Linked DNA regions of Homo sapiens: regions 2 and 3 are each linked to region 1. The links are contacts of gene promoters, found by promoter capture Hi-C in human tissues and cell types (Jung and others, 2019). All regions are on one chromosome and are shown on one strand. The core of a region is centred on a gene start or on the middle of the fragment in contact, and the rest is flanking DNA. Distances in the headings are between cores, read along the strand shown.

Evidence for each region. Contacts are between HindIII fragments. The study calls those that stand out against the background at their distance.
Region 2: the fragment with the promoter of SAA1 here is called in contact with the fragment with the promoter of IGSF22 in region 1 in 1 of the 25 tissues and cell types used here (mesenchymal stem cells).
Region 3: a contact is called between a fragment that was not itself captured here and the fragment with the promoter of IGSF22 in region 1, in 1 of the 25 tissues and cell types used here (bladder).

Annotation. Positions count from the first base shown.
Region 1 is chr11:18,723,764-18,728,102 of GRCh38, forward strand. IGSF22 (immunoglobulin superfamily member 22) reads right to left here and starts at 2,425. Exons shown (of 23, transcript NM_173588.4): 1 at 2,311-2,425; 2 at 365-506. The coding sequence starts at 473. The region is part of intron 2 of IGSF22-AS1 (IGSF22 antisense RNA 1); the gene reads left to right. PTPN5 (protein tyrosine phosphatase non-receptor type 5) reads right to left here. Exons shown (of 15, transcript NM_006906.2): 15 at 4,165-4,339. The HindIII fragment of the contact is 11,359 bases long and covers 1-4,339 here.
Region 2 is chr11:18,263,691-18,268,029 of GRCh38, forward strand. It overlaps SAA1 (serum amyloid A1), which reads left to right and starts at 2,574. Exons shown (of 4, transcript NM_199161.5): 1 at 2,574-2,606; 2 at 3,194-3,288. The coding sequence starts at 3,198. It also overlaps the pseudogene RNA5SP334. The HindIII fragment of the contact is 1,672 bases long and covers 996-2,667 here.
Region 3 is chr11:18,332,419-18,336,757 of GRCh38, forward strand. It overlaps GTF2H1 (general transcription factor IIH subunit 1), which reads left to right. Exons shown (of 15, transcript NM_005316.4): 2 at 642-810; 3 at 3,336-3,528. The coding sequence starts at 657. Among named protein-coding and RNA genes, the nearest start is that of GTF2H1, 12 kb to the left of the region's middle. The HindIII fragment of the contact is 6,284 bases long and covers 1-4,339 here.

The sequences.
Region 1 (4,339 bases), core at 1,175-3,674:
ATGTAGATAAGGTGGCTACCTTCCTAATTTCCCCTATGCCTGAAATTCTACCTTTGGAGATAGAATCTGTTCACCTATGGCTCTGATCTCCTTCAGCAATTAAGAGTTTATCAATCATTCACACACATCCACATGATTGATCTTTTCTAAGCTGTTTTCCTGGAGATCTGATCTGTGTTGAACATCCAGCTGGCTGAAGCTTTAACAAAGCCAAGATTAGAAGCACACGTTGGGTGGGGGTTGCTGTTGGTATTGTGGGCTCCAGAGGGGCCCATTAGTGGCAAAACTGGGGCCACCCAAGGGATGGGTGTGGAGGAAGAATAGCTGCCCTTCCCGATCCCTTCCCTGCCCCCATTCCACTTGCCTCCCACGATCTTGGTTGTCTGGGAGAAGGTCTGCACGTGGGTGGTGGAGCTGGAGAACTCCATGGACACGTGCTCCTGCAGCATCTGCCGGCTGTGAATGGTTGTCATGGTGACAGCAGGCGTGGGCACTCACCTGTGAGACTGGGGAAGAGGATGAGGCCATGAAGGACAAGACAGGGAGTAGGAGGGAGATTCAGAGATGTTATGTGTGTGTTCAGACATAAGAGGAGATGGAAGCACACAGGAGAGGGCCAGGAGAGCAGTCGAGCTCTCTTTTCTTCATTTCCTAGCTTCCTTTTCCTGGTTAGTTACCAGACCCAATAGGCCTGTCCTCTCACTGAGTAACTCCAAACTATTCCAGGGTCTCAGAGGGAGAGGTTATAGGGCTTAGACTTACCCAGCCAACCAAGTAAGGCCTGGAGGGAGTTGAGGATACCTATTGATAGCTACATGGCACTAAGGAGGCAGTGCTGGATGTTTCATCAGGAGGGAATGCAGTCAGACCTAAGAAAGAACTTCCTGACTAAGCCATACTGGAGTGGGCTTTAGAAGGAAGCTGTGTCTCTTATTCCTGGGCCCTGGGGACCCCGGCACTGGTGGAATGCTAAAACAGATGACAAAACATCACTACAATTCTGCTTGTGTTTGCGACATGGTAAAGGCAAAGGTTTAGTTTTTCTTACATTTTTCTTTGAACTGGTAATTCAATCACATAGTTAAAGAATAAAACAATATAAAAATCCATATGGACAGGCTCCCTCCCACTCCTGCGTCTATCTTACAACCTTCCCCATTGCAACAGGTAGCCAGTCTCTAGGCTCCTTCTAGACCTCCATCATGCAAATAGGAAAACTCATGTGTTCTTATCATCTTCCTTTTTTTTTTTTAATTAAAAAAGCACATAAGGTAGCCCATTATACACACTATTCTGACCCTTTCTTTTTTCATTTAATGTGTCTTGGAGATTTTTTCCATACCAGATGATAGCGTTTCCTCATTCCTGTTCAGAGCACCATGTTTTCTCAATGTTTTATTTAACCAGCATTGCGGTTTTTTTTGGGTGATCTCGGCTCATTGCAACCTCCTCCTCTCGAATTCAAGCCATTCTCCTGCCTCAGCCTCCCCAGCAGCTGGGTTTACAGGCACGTGCCACCATGCCCAGCTAATTTTTGTGTTTTCAGTAGAGACAGGGTTTCATCTTGTTGGCCAGGCTGGTCTCAAACTCCTAGCCTCGATTGATCCGCCTGCCTTGGCCTCCCAAAGTGCTGGGATTATAGGTGTGAGCCACTGCATGTGGCCAGCATTGCAGTTTTTTTGTTTTTGTTTTTTTGAGACAGAGTCTTGCTCTGTTGCCCAGGCTGGAGTGCAGTGGCACGATCTTGGCCCACGACAACCTCTGCCTCCCAGGTTCAAGCAATTCTCCTGCCTCAGGCTCCCGAGTAGCTGGGACTACAGGCACCCGCCATCACACCCGGCTAATTTTTTGTATTTTTAGTACAGATGGCGTTTCACTATGTTGGCCAGGCTAGTCTCGAATACCTGACCTCGTGATCCGCCCACCTCAGCCTCCCAAAGTGCTAGGATTACAGGCGTGAGCCACCGCGCCTGGCCCAGCATTGCAGTTTTTAAAGTCCTATTTCGTATATGAGGAAACTGATGTCTGAAAGAAATGACCTGTCCAAGGTCACTCAGACTAGACTCCTAGCTTTTGACTCCAGTCCAGTGGCGTCCCAGAGGGCTCCAAAGCCTTCTTTAACCCAGGTAGTTAGGGGTTAAACTCTATTCCCTCTCTCCACCCCCTAATATATCTCTGCCTGGGCTGCTTCTACCTTTGGGTTCTGAGACTACTCCCCTGTTCCTATTCCTGCCCTCTACCCTATAGTCCCCTCTGGGCTCAGAAGGTGGTCAGCTTTGTCCCCTTCCTGAGGGAGGAGGGGAGCCTTACCTTCAGCACTGACCAGTCCCTCCCAACACTCGAATGCTGTGTCCACGGCTTTGGAGGCTCAGCTAGTGCCTGGACTGTAGGGTGGCCCGTCTCCTTCTTCCTTTGCCCCAACAGTGAGGCTACCAGTGTCATCTGTTCCTTAAATGTCTGGCCCCCTGGGGGCGATTCCTTAGTCAGGCTCTGCAGCTGTCTCAGCTAGATGGCACACTGCTTGGTTGTGGGGGGAGGGGGAGGGCGGTGGAGAAGGGAGGCGGGAAGCAAAGCTGGATCCAGGCTGGGGGAAACACTGAAGGCCAGGCGGGAAGGAGGCTGAGGGTGGCAGTCCAGGGGTACTTTTTTTGTTCCCTTGTGGTACAGGTTTTGGCTCTCACTGCTGCTGGGTAGGACCTCTCTGAGCTGAGGGGCTCAGGGTAGTGTGTGTGCACAGGCACACACTCAGGTACAGGTGCATGCATAGTCCAGCAGGGCTCAGGGAGCAAAGCAACAGGTCTGTATTTTCCAGGGACTGGGACACGGTGAACTGGGGAGGGCCTCTGGGATCTGCTGCGTTGCTACACAAATCCAGGGGTTCCCATTCATGTTGCACTCCTATGTGTGGTTCATACACAGCCTGAGTATCTTTACAAGGCCACCCTGGGGAAGAACAGGGAAATGTTAGGTCTCCTTCCTCTTCCCACTTCAACAGCCCAATCTCCCTAATCTGGGTAGAAGAGTAGGAGGGCCCATCCTCCGGGGGTTGTGGGGAGGTCTCTGCTTGAGGGTGACTGGAGAGTATGGCCACCTCTTCTCAAGGACTTCCATCTGGGCTGCTTCAGCCACCTGTTGTTTTCTTTTCTTTTCTTTTTTTTGAGATGGAGTCTCTGTCACCCAGACTGGATGCAGTGGCACGATCTTGGCTCACTGCAACCTCTGCCTCCCAGGTTCAAGCGATTCTCCTGCCTCAGCCTCCTGAGTATCTGGGATTACAGGCGTGCACCGCTACGCCCGGCTAATTTTTGTATTTTTAGTAGAGATGGGGTTTCACCATGTTGGTCAGGCTGGTCTCGAACTCCTGACCTCATGATCTGCCACCCCTCGGCCTCCCAATGTGCTGGGATTACAGGCGTGAGCCACCGTGTCCAGCCCACCCTGTTGTTTTCTCATCATCTGTAGCACACCCCGCATGCCTGGACCCTGGATCCCACCCAAGGTTCTGGCACCTTGTAAGGACTTGTTGGTCAGCACCCTTGCCCTGGACCCCTCCTTCTGCCCTGGGGTGACCCCCACCTGCCAGCAGTGGCATCATGGCTACTTTTGCTCCATCCCAGGGGGGCAGGGGACAAGAATAGAGCAGGAGTGTCCAGGATGGCTCAGGATCTCAGCCCACATGCAGATTCCCTGGGCCCCTTGGGAGGAGCTACTCTGAGCCCAGGCCTTACAAGGGAAATTACTGGGCTGCAGCTGCTGTTGGGATCTGTGGAGCTAACATGGGATAAGAGTTTGGCCAACAGGGAGGGGCCTGGGTGTGACCTGAATGTCTCCTTACCCTAGCCTTGGCTTCTCTGGCACATCTGTTGGAAATGGTGACCTGCCAGCCACTGTGCCTTCCCTGGAAGCCTTCCACACCTGTCCTTGAGGCTCCCCATGGCCCAGAGCATGTGTCAGGGCCAGGGCTGAGGCTGTGTGAGAATCCTGCAGAATGTTCCCAGTTTGGCTTTACAAATTTGGACTCGCTCCATACTCCCAGTCTCCACAAGGGGCTCCAGTGAGCAGAAGGGCCAAGCTCACTGTGCTCATGCTGGGGAGGGGCACAAAGACCCAAGTACAGGAAGGAAGGCAGTGGAGGGGAGAGGCAAATCACACAGACCCAGGAGGTTAGTTTTGCTCAAAATGCTCCGTTTATTGCTCTATTCAATGACCACGAGCGAATTATAAAAAGACACCAAATGTCTCTGTCTGCCGTGGGATAAATATTTAAAGTCAGCAATAAAAACACGTGGCTCCAAGATAATACATGTTGCCAAAGAGTCATGCATGCCCTCCTGATGGG
Region 2 (4,339 bases), core at 1,324-3,823, 460 kb before region 1:
AACAGTTATCTGTCAATAAGCCTGACAAGGTTCCTATCCCTGTGTTTTGTGCACTCTGGGTCAAACTCAGAAATGCAAACAGGTGGAGAGCGATGAGTTCTATGACTGGTAAAGAAAAGGGCCTGCTGGTTTCCCTCAGGATCTCTGTCCTTCATCTCAAAATGCATCTTCCTTGTTATCGTTCCTCTCCTTCCTGTCTCAGAGGAAGACCTGCTCCTGCTACACTCTGGGCAACCTTGTCCCCGTGGCCCTGTGGCCCCTTGGTTGTTGAAGTCTATGTTATGCCCTATCTTTTACCCTCAGTCACTCTCTCTGTTAACATTCTCCCTGTGCCCTGTAACCCTCCCTCATCTTTAAATAAATCCTCCTCCTTTGACCTTCGCATGTATTCAGTCATGCAACTCAACAAGCATTTATTGCACAGTGATATTCAATTTGCCACTTGCTAAAAGTCTGAACCTTGGCAGCTGAATGTGATCAGAAAAAAAGCACGACTGCTATGACTAGTCTCACTTTAAATTCATGGTCGTTGACCAAGAGCTACCATACAATCCACTACCTTTCTCAAGTTCAGTCACATTCTTCCTTTCCTAGATGTCTGCTTTCTACTTCTCTTCTCTTCTGAAACTTCCCACAACTCCTCGTTCATTCTCTTCTCAGTTGACAACTTTGCTTCCTATTTCACTGAAAAATAGAAGCAATCAGATATGAACTTCTGGCTGGGCATGGTAGCTCATGCCTATAATCTCAGCACTTTGGGAGGCCAAGGCAGGAGGACTGCAGGTTAGGAATTTGAGACCAGCCTGGGCAACATGGTGAAACTCCCACTGTACTAAAAATTTTAAAAATTACTCAAACATATTGGCAAACAACTGCAGTCCCAGCTACTTGGGAGGTTGAGATGCAAGGATCACTTAAACCTGGGAGGCTGAGGCTGCAGTGAGCCATGATTGCACCACTGCACTCCAGCTCAGGCAACAGAGCAAGACCCTGTCTTGAGAGGAGAGGAGAAGAGAGGAGGGGAGGGGAGGGCAGGGGAGGGGAGGGGAGGGGAAGGGAGAGGGGAGGGGAGAGGGGAGGAGAGAGGGGAGGGGAGGGGAGGGGAGGGGAGGGGAGGAGAGGAGGATCAGGTGAGGAGTATGCCAAGGAGTGTTTTTAAGACTTACTGTTTTCTCTTTCCCAACAAGATTGTCATTTCCTTTAAAAAGTAGTTATCCTGAGGCCTATATTCATAGCATTCTGAAAGAAAGAAAAGAAAAGAGGAAAGAAAGAGAGAGGAAGGAAGGAAGGAGAAAGAGAGAGGAAGGAAGGAGAAAGAGAGAGGAAGGAAGGGAGGAAGAGAAGAAGGGAGGAAGAAAAGAAGGAAGGAAGGAGGGAGGGAGGGAAGGGAGGGAGGGAAAGAGGAAGAAAGGAGGGAAAGAAGGAAGGAAGAGAGAGAGGAAGGAAGGAGGAAGAGAGAAGAAGGAAGGAGGAAGACAGAGAGGGAGTAAGGAAGGAAGGAAGGAGAAAGAGAGAGGAAGGAAGAAATGAAGGAAGGAAGGAAAGAAAGAAAAAATAAAAGAGTGAAAACGGACTGGAGAAGAAGAAACCACAGTTGCTGCTATATCCACCAGCCTCTCTGCATGTCCTGGCCTCAGCCCTGCTGGGCTCTGGTACTGACCACTTCCTTCCTTCCTAATTTCCTAATTGACTAGGCCAGCTGAGCAGGGCTTTTCTGTGCTGAGGAGGTAAATCTCTGGATATCTAGACTGAGGGGTGGAAGGAGCCTTCCAGGGCACACATGAGACATGGCAGGGGTAGGCTGCTAGTTTTATTTTGTTTTCTTTTAGACACAGGGTCTTGCTCTGTTAACCAGGCTGGAGTGCAGTGGCGTGATTATAGCTCACTGCAGCCTTGACCTCCTGGGTCTCCCACAATCCTTCCGCTTCAGCCTCTTGAGTAGCTGGGACTGCAGGTGCACACTACCACACCCGGTCCATTTATTTTTATATTTCGTAGAGACAAGATCTTACAGTTTTGCACAGAGTGATCTTAAACTCTTGACCCCAAGTGATCCTCCTGCCTTGGCCTCCAAAAGCATTGGGATTATAGGAGTGAGCCACTGTGCTGGACCTAGTCTGTCAGCTTTGAAGCTTTAGATATGAACTCAGAGGGACTTCATTTCAGAGGCATCTGCCATGTGGCCCAGCAGAGCCCATCCTGAGGAAATGACTGGTAGAGTCAGGAGCTGGCTTCAAAGCTGCCCTCACTTCACACCTTCCAGCAGCCCAGGTGCCGCCATCACGGGGCTCCCACTCTCAACTCCGCAGCCTCAGCCCCCTCAATGCTGAGGAGCAGAGCTGGTCTCCTGCCCTGACAGCTGCCAGGCACATCTTGTTCCCTCAGGTTGCACAACTGGGATAAATGACCCGGGATGAAGAAACCACTGGCATCCAGGAACTTGTCTTAGACCGTTTTGTAGGGGAAATGACCTGCAGGGACTTTCCCCAGGGACCACATCCAGCTTTTCTTCGCTCCCAAGAAACCAGCAGGGAAGGCTCAGTATAAATAGCAGCCACCGCTCCCTGGCAGGCAGGGACCCGCAGCTCAGCTACAGCACAGATCAGGTGAGGAGCACACCAAGGAGTGATTTTTAAAACTTACTCTGTTTTCTCTTTCCCAACAAGATTATCATTTCCTTTAAAAAAAATAGTTATCCTGGGGCATACAGCCATACCATTCTGAAGGTGTCTTATCTCCTCTGATCTAGAGAGGTAAGCAGGGTCGGGCCTGGTAGTACTTGGATGGGAGAACACCTGGGAATACCAGGTGCTAAAGGCTTTAAGAATAAAAAATAATGATCCTGCTTTGTGTTTATCCCATGTTGAGTTCTGTGCGGGGCAGAGGGAACACACGGTAAATGCGTTATGGGGAATTATAGGCTACTTGAGGGAGTGACAGTCTGGTGGTAACTCCTGCCTTCCTCCATCAGTGCCACGTTGGCATCCTCTTATGCAGTCAGGCTTCAGGGCTGATGGGTTCAGAACCGAGGGCTTCTGGCTCTGAGTGAGGTCCTGCTGCAAGGTTTCCTAGATGAGCCACTGAGACTCTAATAAGATCCAGTGGAAATAACCAGGCTCTCGTCGGAATATAAGTCCCAAGGGAAGCTGTGCCAGTCTTGTGGGCGACTGCCTGACTTCTCCTTTCATTTCAGCACCATGAAGCTTCTCACGGGCCTGGTTTTCTGCTCCTTGGTCCTGGGTGTCAGCAGCCGAAGCTTCTTTTCGTTCCTTGGCGAGGCTTTTGATGGTAAGGCTTCAGAAGGTTTGCAGGATTTCTGAAGAGAAACATCACCCTGGACCTGATAAACTGGGGAAAATGATGCTTTCGGAAGGCTGCTTTTGAACCACAGAGTTGCTAGTGTCTGCGTTGCTGAGGCCTGCCAGGAACTAGGGTTTGCTGGGTTGCCTGTCTCGAGTCTTTCAGAGCTGCTGGGAATATCCCCTTTCCCCGTAGTGCAGCTTCTCAGGATGTGTTAAGTGGATGGATCACATTTCAGAAGCCGCTGCAAGGTGTATCAAAAACACATCTCCTGAGCCGTAAGGGACGGGGCATCCAGTAACAACGCACACGGGGTATTTTTGGGCTTCCTTAAGATTTGAGCCGCTGCCTTAGGTTGTGCTGCCCAATGTGCCTGGGGAGCTGCTAAACAGATTAGAGAGTCGAGGATTGTTGTCAGTTACTCAGAGAAAGAACAATCATCCTTTCCAGGAGCACCTGAGCTGTTTGTTTTGCGTAGAAGATGCAAAATAAGGCCTGCAATGGGTATAAAATGTCCCTCAGCATAAATCGCATAGGAGTATGACTAAGGCTGTTGACTCTTCTGTCTTCTTTCTCCTTCCTCCTTCGATTTCCTAGTTGGATAATGTACAGGGCTCTTTAGCCTCGCTCTGTCAGGGGCTCCCTTCCTGGTTTGTTCTGTTTCCATTCTTCCTTCTCCAGCCTTCTTGACAAGAGCTGGGAACTAACGTGCCTCAAGCCCCCACAAGGACCACAGCATTTTCTCATTTAGTTTCAGAATGACTCTGTGACGCAATCTTCCTCTCTTGGAAGGTGAGAAAGCTGATCTTGGAAGGTGAGAAAGCTGAGACTTAGAGCAGCTGAAGCCAATGCCCAGGGACTTACTGCCAGTCAGCAGGTGGCAGGGCAGAGGTTTGAGCCCGGCTGTGCTTGAGGTCAGGGCTCTTGCCAGGTAGACGCATCACTGACCACCTCCTAGAGGTTGATGGTTATGAATCTCAGGCACACCTTGGCATCACCTGAAATACCCATGCCTTCAACTCCCCAGCAGAGTCTGCAG
Region 3 (4,339 bases), core at 777-3,276, 390 kb before region 1:
GAGGTGGAGGGACCAGACTCTTTCTTAGGTAACTAGTTAGGCATTATACCAATGAATCATGGCCAAGACGTGGAGAGCAGTTGAAGACATTTGAATGTTAAAAGATAAGAAATTAGCATGTGAAGTGTTAAATATTTAGTTCTCTCAGTTTTATTTATACAGAAGAAACAGACCAGAAATCAGGAAACTTTGGTGTGGTTTCAGCTCTGGGAGTGGTTCTGGGAAGTCCCCACATATCTTGCAGACTTTAGTTTCAATTGAAACAAATTTGAACTAAATAATAAATATGACTGTAATTCTACAGTTTTACAATTGTAAATATAGACTATATGAAAGACTACACATTTTCAAATTGTGTGTGTATAAGAATATAACTGAGGAAAATAAATTAATAATACTCATTAGCATATAAGTATTGTATAAATTTACACCTGTGGTATGAGCAAAATGAAATTTAATTGTAGAGGAATGATGCCGTGCAACTTTATCTTCAACTTTGAATGAGAAAAGAGACTTTCTTCTTCCCCGTTAATTTCCTACAGTTTAGATTTTATATTTGAAAGGGACTCTAGAAGTCAACAAATTCAACCCTAATTGATGTGTGGAATAGTTTTTTTCTTCATCTTTTTTTTCTCTCTTAGCACCTTCTAGCCACCATGGCAACCTCATCTGAAGAAGTTTTGCTGATTGTAAAGAAAGTGCGTCAAAAGAAGCAGGATGGAGCTCTGTACCTCATGGCAGAAAGAATTGCTTGGGCACCTGAAGGCAAAGATAGATTTACAATCAGCCATATGTATGCAGATATTAAATGTAAGTCAGCTATACTAAGTTCTGATGTATTTGTATGTCATAGTTGCTAGTAATTTTGTAAAGAGATTATATAAATCTTTATTTTATATCAAAAAATCAACTATGTAGAAATAATTACAAAATGGGGTCACTGAATATATACTGTTTTATAACCTGACCTTTTCACTTAATAACAGAACAGGTACAGGTTTACATATAATATGTAAATCTACCTGACATATAGATCTCCACACACTTTAAGAGTTGCATAATACTCCACTAAATGAATATACAATCATGTATTTAACCAGCCCTCTGTGGTTGGACACTTAGGAAGTTTCCAGAATTTTTTTATTGCAGTGTTTGCACTAATATCATTTCAAGGTTGTATGTGTAGGATACATTTCTGCAAAGAATTTCCTGTTTAATAGTTGATGTGTTTTTTTGTGTTATTGTTGGTAGGGACAGAGTCTTGCTGTGTTGCCCAGGCCGGTCTCAAACTCCTGGCCTCAAGCAACACTCCTGCCTCATCCTCTCAAAGTTCTGGGATTATGTTATAGGCATGCACCACCATGCTTGGCCAGGTTTATGCATTTAAAATGCTGATAGATGATGCCAGATTTTCCTTCACTAAAATTGTACCAGTTAGGCAAGTTGTCTGATCTTTGCTTATGTGGCCATCTTCTGTTGAGAAGACTCAACCTTATAGTGAATGTAGGTGGTGGAATCTCTTTTTATAAATTTCAGGCATGGGCTAGGTGCAATGGCTCACACCTGTAATCCCAGAAGTTTGAGAGGCCAAGGCGAGTGGATCACCTGAGATCAGAAGTTTGAGACCAGCCTGCTCAACATGGTGGAACCCCATTTCTACTAAAAATACAAAAATTAAGGGCCGGGCGCGGTGGCTCACGCCTGTAATCCCAGCACTTTGGGAGGCCGAGGTGGGCGGATCACAAGGTCAGGAGATCGAGACCATCCTGGCTAACACAATGAAACCCCATCTCTACTAAACATACAAAAAAATTCTCTGGGCATGGTGGCGGGCGCCTGTAGTCCCAGCTCCTCGGGAGCCTGAGGCAGGAGAATGGCGTGAACTCAAGAGGCGGAGCTTGCAGTGAGCCAAGATCGCGCCACTGCACTCCAGTCTGGGTGCGAGACTCCTTCTCAAAAAAAGACATATATTTCTGAGAGAATGCCCTACAAATTTCTGTTACTAGCTAATAGCCTTAGCTACTAACATTTCTGTAACAATAGACTTATAAATTAGCAGTATTAGCGTCTCTCTCAAATGGGAAGCTAGCCCCATAGCTTTGTGTAATACACACGCACATTGTGATAACCACAGTGTACAATAAACAGTATGCCCATCTCCAATTTCTCTACAATTCTTCTCAGTTATTGGTGAAAGCAGTGCATACCCAAAACTAGATTTGCACCAGAACAGTTTCAAGTTGAATATTTGAAGGAATGCCCACATCTGAAAGAAGCAATTGAAATTGATTTAGTTCTTATCATAGCTGACAAAGTTACAGAAAATTTTAAAGAATGATACAGTGAAAACCTACGTAATATGCCCCACCTAGATATTAGTTATTATTTTGCCATATTTGCTTTATTATTTGTGTGTGCACTTTTATTGCTTGTAATACCATTATCACACTGAAAACATTTTAATAAAAAATAGCCATTGTTACATTTCCATTGGTTGTCTCAGTAATGTTTATAGTTGTGGTTTTTGGTTTATTTTTTTATTTTTTTATTTTAAAAAAAACGGTATCCAATCTAGGTTCCTGTAGTTGTCATTTCTTTAGTCCCTTTCAGGGTATAGCCTTGTCAAATATCAAACATTCTGAATATTTCTGATTGTCTCCTCAAGGTTTTAATTTATTCCTGTATACCTGTATTTTTTATAAGCTAAAAGTCAGATCTAAAGGCTTGAATATATTCAGCTTAAACATTTTGTGCAAGAGTAATAACATACATAGTGACATTCACTTCCTGTTCCATCACCTCAGAAAGCATATAGTGTCAGGTTGTCTCACTTTTAATGAGGCTAAGTTTGATAACTTTATTAAAGTGGTGACACCAGATTTCTCGAATATAAAATTACATATTTCCCTTGCAAAAAGAAATGCCATGGGCCGCATTTTGCAGTCTTTTGGATCATGATAGGTCATTTTTTATTAATGATAATGTTGATTTGGGGCAGTTTGTTTAAAATACATTCAGGAAGCTTTAAAGAGGTCTGCCCTGCCCTAGTTGAATGGTAACAAAAGCCCATTAATATCTGGAGGTAGTAGCAGTGGGTGAGAAGTGCTGCATGACAAGAGTACCAAAGAAGGAAGCAGAGTGTTAGTGAGTTTGATGAGCATGCTCTGGTTGTATGGGATCATTTAAGAAGAGTGCATTCTACAAAAGCATCAGTATTGGAATAGGGCAGTTAAAGCCCAAAGGAATCCTGAATCATCTTGGGAGAAGTAACTTACTGTATGGTTATTCCCACAGTGTGAGTGTCATCATCTAACTGCCCTCATGCTTCTTTTTAGGCCAGAAAATTAGTCCAGAAGGAAAAGCTAAAATTCAGCTTCAGCTGGTCCTACATGCAGGGGACACAACTAACTTCCATTTTTCCAATGAAAGCACAGCAGTGAAAGAGCGAGATGCAGTAAAAGACCTTCTTCAGCAGCTGCTGCCCAAATTCAAGAGGAAAGCAAATAAAGAACTGGAAGAGAAGAACAGGTGGGAGGAAAAGAATAGCCTTTTGAAAGAGATACTGGGTTCTCTATAGTCTCCTAGTATGCTAATAGCTTGTTAGCTATCCCCACGTTTTTTCGGTTTTGGTTTTGGTTTTTTGTTGTTGTCGTTTTTGTTTTTGTTTTGTTTGTTTGTTTGTTTTGGTGGTGGTGGTTTTTTGTTTGTTTGTTTTTGGATTTTTTTGAGACGGAGTTTCGCTCTGTCGCCTAGGCTGGAGTGCAGTGGCACAATCTTGGCTCGCTGCAACCTCCACCTCCCAGGTTCAAGCAATTCTCCTGTCTCAGCCTCCCGAGTAGCTGGGACTACAGGCATGTGCCACCATGCCCGGCTAATTTTTGTAATTTTAATAGAGACAGGGTTTCACCATGTTGGTCAGGCTGGTCTCGAACTTCCTGACCGCCAGTGATCCACCCACCTCAGCCTCCCAAAGTGCTGGGATTACAGGTATGAGCCACCACGCCCGGCCACCTATCCTCACTTTTGCTATGATACTGTAATGTAGGAAAATATGGGCTCTAGTGTCTTTACCTTGGTGTTTAGTTTTCAGCTTTAAAATCTTACTGCTTGTTTGACTTTGGGAAACGAGAATGTGCAAACCCAGAAGCTGAATTAACTGCATCATGCTTAACATCTGCTTAGGAGCAGAACCGGGATTGGAAGGTGCTGAAGTTCCTTAATTTCTTTTCCCAGTTCTCTGTCACAGAGAAGATGCTAAGCCATTGGAAGTATGCTTATGAACAAGAAACCTAAAATAATTCACACTGAAAAAGTGAGACAGTATGTAAAATAATGAGAA